2 separate regions of the Homo sapiens genome follow, and region 2 is linked to region 1. Evidence: promoter capture Hi-C in 16 types of primary human blood cells and fetal thymus (Javierre and others, 2016). All regions are on one chromosome and are shown on one strand. The core of a region is centred on a gene start or on the middle of the fragment in contact, and the rest is flanking DNA. Distances in the headings are between cores, read along the strand shown. Region 1 holds the start of CHP2 (calcineurin like EF-hand protein 2). Region 2 overlaps PRKCB (protein kinase C beta).

What was found. Contacts are between HindIII fragments. The CHiCAGO score rates a contact against its expected background, and 5 or more counts as called.
Region 2: a contact is called between a fragment that was not itself captured here and the fragment with the promoter of CHP2 in region 1, in 1 of 17 cell types (megakaryocytes). The highest score is 5.3, in megakaryocytes.

The regions. Positions count from the first base shown.
Region 1 is chr16:23,753,719-23,756,462 of GRCh38, reverse strand. It overlaps CHP2 (calcineurin like EF-hand protein 2), which reads right to left and starts at 1,437. Exons shown (of 7, transcript NM_022097.4): 1 at 1,347-1,437; 2 at 730-802; 3 at 536-616; 4 at 270-400; 5 at 14-75. The coding sequence starts at 1,413. RefSeq lists an enhancer at 904-1,549. The HindIII fragment of the contact is 3,392 bases long and covers 553-2,744 here.
Region 2 is chr16:24,006,831-24,009,636 of GRCh38, reverse strand. All of the region lies in intron 3 of PRKCB (protein kinase C beta), which reads right to left. Among named protein-coding and RNA genes, the nearest start is that of PRKCB, 170 kb to the right of the region's middle. The HindIII fragment of the contact is 8,795 bases long and covers 1-2,806 here.

The DNA.
Region 1 (2,744 bases), core at 188-2,687:
GCTTTCTGCCAACCTGCAGCATCTCATGCCTGGAGATCTTCCCATCGCGATCCAGGTCATAGAGCTGAAATGCATCTGGGGAGAGGGTGGGAGGGGGAAAGGAAGGTAGGTCTTCCCTGGCTCTCTTCCAGCAGCCACCTTCCTTCCCCCCACCTTGGAGGAGGGGGGAGGTTGTCAATGCCCTCAGGAAGGGAGTGGGAGATCCCTGGAGCCTGTCCCTGGTGTGGGTACATCTGCATTCTCACTTGTGCAGGTCCTCACAAACTCACAGTGAAGTTTGTTCCTTCTGCTGTTGAGAGGTTCAGGTTTCTTGGGGTCTTGGGTTTCTGTGTCCTCATCTTCTACAGGGCGAAAATGAGCCAAGACCCTGACAAAGCCTGGGAAATCCACTCGCTGGCTCCTGGGGAGACGGGACAGAATGGAAAGAGGTGGTGGTCACCTTGGCCATCACTTTGCCTCCGTCTCTAACCTCCCCTCCCACCCACTCACACACCGGTTTTCCCGCCTTCACCTCCCCACGCCCAGCAAGCCTCACCCATCGGGGAAGAAGCTTTCTATAATTCGGTCTCCCAGGGGGTTCACGGCGAGCGCCCCTATCTGCTGGAGATCCATGCGGCTGCAAAGCCAAATTTCAAAGAGGGTAAGGCAGAGATGCCAGACGGAGGGTCAAAGAGGGACATGGAGTCAGAGAGACAGAGGCCAGAAGTTATGAGGCCGGCTCCCCCTCACCTCAGGTAGCCCTTCTTATTCCTGTCCAGTGCCCGGAACCGGTGGTGCAGGCGGAGCAGGCTGGCTTGGGAGACTGCGGGAAGGAGAGTGGGGTGGGGGTGTGTGACTCTGCAGGGCCAGCTCCAGAAACCCGCCCCAACAGGCCAGGAAGATGGGCCAGAACAGCGGGGGCTGGCTGGAAGGGGCGATCATCCCGGGGAATCAGGGGTTGAGCTGGCCGGGGCGGAGGGAGAGTGACACGACCCCGCGAAGATCCAGGTTCAAGACCCGGGCGGCTCGCAACCTCCCGAAAACCAAAGAACCAAAGCCATCCCTTCCAACCGCCGTCAGCTCTGCCTTCAGCTTCGAGCCGGGCTGGAGGACACCTGGGTGCCTGGATTCCTCTGGACTCCGACCCCGTGAACCCGGATCCTCCCCAGACTTGGAGGCTGGGACCCCTAGGTTAACCCGCCCCTAACCCAGCGATCCCAGGCACAGGGGCCTTGGTCTTCCAGCTCCGGGGAGCCCCGGACCCCAGACTTGTAAGTTCGTCCATCCTTCAACCCAACCCCTTCCCTAGCCCCAGACGCCTGGGTTCGCCCCGTCCCCTCCGCAGCCGCCGACGCGGGCGCACTCACAGCCGGTCTCTCGCCGAATACTGTCCCCGTCGGGAATGACCGCGGCGTGGGAGCTGCGCGACCCCATGGCCGAGCTGGAGGCGGAAGGGCCGGAGCAGCCACCCGGACCCACGCGTTCTCTCCTCCCGCCGGAGAGGCGTGGCCGCCCCAGTGGCCCCAGGGGGACGAAGGCCACAAGCCTGGCGCGCGGCCAAGCTCCAGAACCCCGGCGTGCCTCTCCTCCCACCCGCGACCCGGGCGAATGGAAAACAATGTGCAGGGTGGCGGGTCAGAGGGAGGCTGCGAACAACGGGCTGTTTCAGCTCCGAGATTTTGCGATCCGCACGGGAGAGGCTGGTCGAGTCCCAGGCCCCGCGTTTCCACGCCTCCCCCGGGGCCGGTTCCCACGGTGCGCCCTGACACCTGAGCCACCTCCTCCTTCGCGGGCCCCGGGCGCTCCCAACCCCAGGGCGCTCCCCGGCGTCGACGCTGAGGAAGCCTGGGAGACCTGACCTCCTCTGTAGAGACCACGCCCTGCTGGAAGGCGGGTGGCCTATGGGGAGGGAATCCTGGGGGGAGGGGGGAAGAGGCATCGAAGAACTCCCAAAGACGGGGAAGTGGGGAGGGGCGGCGAGATGAAGGGTGTGCGTTAGGTTAAGTGGAAAGAGCACTGGTTTGGGAGTCCTTGTTGGAATCCCAGCCGTGCCCGTGACTCTGGGAAAGTCAGTAAATCTTGGTTTCATCCCTTTTGTTCGGTTCACATTGCCTTATTGTTGTTTAATTGAGCCAATGCTTAAAATTCAGGAGATTTAACCCAAAATCCACATTCTTGGCTTTTCCTGAGAAATCAGAAGTTCTATCACCACCAGGCCCAGAGCTGTCTTCTGGCCACAGTCCCTCCAAGCCCAATTCACTCCCTTAGGTACCTACTGATCCCGTAGAGCTCCAGACTGGGAATGACTTAGTCCTCTGAACAGCCCTCCAGAGCCATGGGACTCCTTGGCCCAAGAGAGGGTTACAGACATCACTGGGACTAGGCTTAAAGCAAGAATGACAACAAGGGCTCTTGTTTACCACGCTTTGCTAAGCACTTTACGTGCATCCGTTCACACATTCCTTGTAGGCCCTGCTGGGCTGCTTTCTTCTAATTTTACGTGGTGGAGGCTGCCGGGGGCAAGTTGTGAACTAATTATGTAAAGCGTGCATTCTCAGTGCGGTCTCTATCTCACCCCAACGGGGCAAAAAATAAAACATATTTTTTATGTACAAAGCACAGCATACATACAGCACATAAATAGATATACAGTATAGCTGTGATATTGAAATTTCAGGGCAGACGTGGAGGCTCATGCCTGTAATCCCAGCACTTTGGGAGGTAGAGGCAGGAGGATTGCTTGAGCCCAGGAGCTCAAGACCAGC
Region 2 (2,806 bases), core at 114-2,613, 250 kb before region 1:
TCTCTCCATATCTTTGCTAACACTTGTCTTTTTTAAAAAAAAAAATAGGCCGGGCGTGGTGGCTCCCACCTGTAATCCCAGCACTCTGGGAGGCTGAGGCAGCAGAATCACTTGAACCCGGGAGGTGGAGGTTGCAGTGAGCCAGGATCACGCCATTGCACTCCAGCCTGGGCAACAGAGCAAGACTCCATCTCAAAAAAAAAAAAAAAATAGTCATCCTAACAAGTGTGAGATAATATCTCATTGTGGTTTTGATTTGCATTTGCCTAGTGATTAGTGATGTTTAGCTTTTTAAATTTTCATATGCCTTTTGGTCATTTGTATGTCTTCCTCGGACAACTGCCTATTCAAGTCCTTAGCCCGTGTGAAGGTTCCTCAAAACATTAAAAATAGAACTACCATATGATTCAGCACCCTCACCTCTGGGTATTTACCCAAAAGAATTGAAATTAACATCCTGAAGAAATGTTAGCAGTTCCATGTTCATTGCAGCACTCTTCACAACAGCTAAACGTGGAAGCAATCTAGGTGTCCACTGACGAACAAATGGATAAGGAAAATGTGTTTATGCATATGATGGAATATTTTTCAGCCCCCCAAAAAGAAGGAAGTTCTGCAATGAGACAACATAGATGAACCCTGAGGACATTATGGTAAATGAAAAACACTAGTCACAGGAAAACAAATACTAGATGATTCCACTTACGTAAAGTAACAAAAATAGTCAAATTGATAGAAAATCAGAGTGAAAGGGTGGTGGCTACAGCCTGGAAGAAGGGCAAAATGGGGAATTACTTACCAATGGGCATCAAGTTTCAGTCAAGCATGATGAATAAGCCCCAGAGATCTGCTGTCTCGTACTGCATCCATCATCAACAATGATGCATTTTACACTTAAAACTTTGTTAAGAGGATAGATTTCATGTTACGTGTTCTTTCCAAAATAAAATAAAATAGATCACTGGGGGTGGGGGGAAAAGCAGCCAAAGGATTGCTGGTCTGGTAGTGGTTATTTTGATGGATGGGGAGGGACGTGTAGAGATTAGAAGGAGCAAAGAAGGGCTTCTGGGGCTCTGCTTACAAAGAAAAATTCACTGTGTGAGAATTCATCAAGCTGGACACTTTTCCCGTACAATAAACAGTTGTCAAAAACTGTGTGACCAGTCCAGACTAAAACCAGCACCCTTGATTCCAAATTCTAAACTCCTAGAAGAGGCCAATTTGATCCTGTTTGGGAGAGATGTCCACACGCATCTGGACCAAATCAGGCCAAGGCTGTAGGGTCACAGACCTTTGGCAGTGCATATCTGGAAAGGCAGCTCTCAGGGAAGAAAGCTGCCTGCTTCAGGACCATTTGTGCAGGTACACAGGGTTGAGGTCTACCAGGCAGTTTGAGGTACTAGGTAAGAGCATAGCCCCACGGGCCAGAGGGCCTAGAGCTGGACCTCTCACAAGTGACCTTGAGCAAGTCATTTAGTCTCTGAGTACCTCAGTTTCCTCATCTGTGAAATGGAATTATAACAATGATAACCTATCTCACAGGGTGTAATGAAGAATGAAGAATTATTATATGTAAAGTGTTTAGGACAGAATTATATCTATAAATGCTGGCTCTTAGTTTTTTTTTTTTGAAAAAGAATACCAAGACATCCTAGAATCCTAGACCACTGGAGGTGGGGGAGCCCTCATGAGGGCATGAACCTCATGAACACAAAAGAGCAGAGACAGAAAGAAGACTAGGAAACGTGAGGTCTCTTGAGTCCAGAACCAGGGCCTTTCACATCCTTTCTGGCTGCCTATCTCCAAGGCCATCTGCCTTTTGATTTCTCCATTTGCCCCCAGGCCTGCAGGCTCCAGAAATTACGGTCTTCTGGGAAATTGTGAGGCTGGTCCTGCCTCCCAACTAGGAGAAGCCACAATAATTTATAGATGGGACGCATCAGCTTCATTCAAGTCCCAGCAGCTCGCCTCTCTGTGCACGGTTGGTTTCTGTTCTCTGGCCTTCCAGCATCATGGATTTGCTTCTTCCTCCACAGCATGCAGCTCTGTGTCTTCGTGACAGTGAGGGACAAAGGGATGTTTGGAAGCAATTCATTCTGACCTTTACAAGCGGGTTCTGCATTGCAGAAGCAGTCAGCCCGTGGCAAATGAGAGCAGAAGAATCATGCAGAATTCACTTGACAATCAAGAGAACTGCATTTTATCACATTACCATCATTTTATCAGCCCCTCTCTCCAACCAGCCCATGGGAGATGCCTTTCCATTTTGCAGAAAGCAAGATAAATGCATGCAATTCCAAAAATAAGGATGGACTTTTGAAATGCACAATCTAAGACTTGAAAGGATCATTTGTGGCAATAATATTAACTAGCATGTCCTATGTGCCAGTTACGGCATGAAGCTCTTACCATCTAGGTTAACTCATTTAATCCTCACGTGGACCCTATGAGGTGGGTGCCATTTTATCCTCTTTTTATAGATGAGGAAACTGAAGCAGGGAGGTTAGGTAACTAGCCCAAGATTATCAGCTAGTTAGTGGCCAAACTGGAATTCAAACTCAGTCATTCTGGTTTCAGAGCTTTTATACATATTGCCTTACACTGGCTTCTAAACCCAGCTATCCATCAGAATTACCCAAGAACTTTTTAACACATGGATTCCCAGGTCCTGATCTCTATCTCTTCAGGTGAAGCCTGTCATCCAATCTCTCTGCAATCTGCAATGTAGCATTTAGAAATTGTAGCAAACACGTTGTTCCAATTGGCGCAACATCTGTGCCTTCTTCCCCCTCCCCACCCCCTGCTC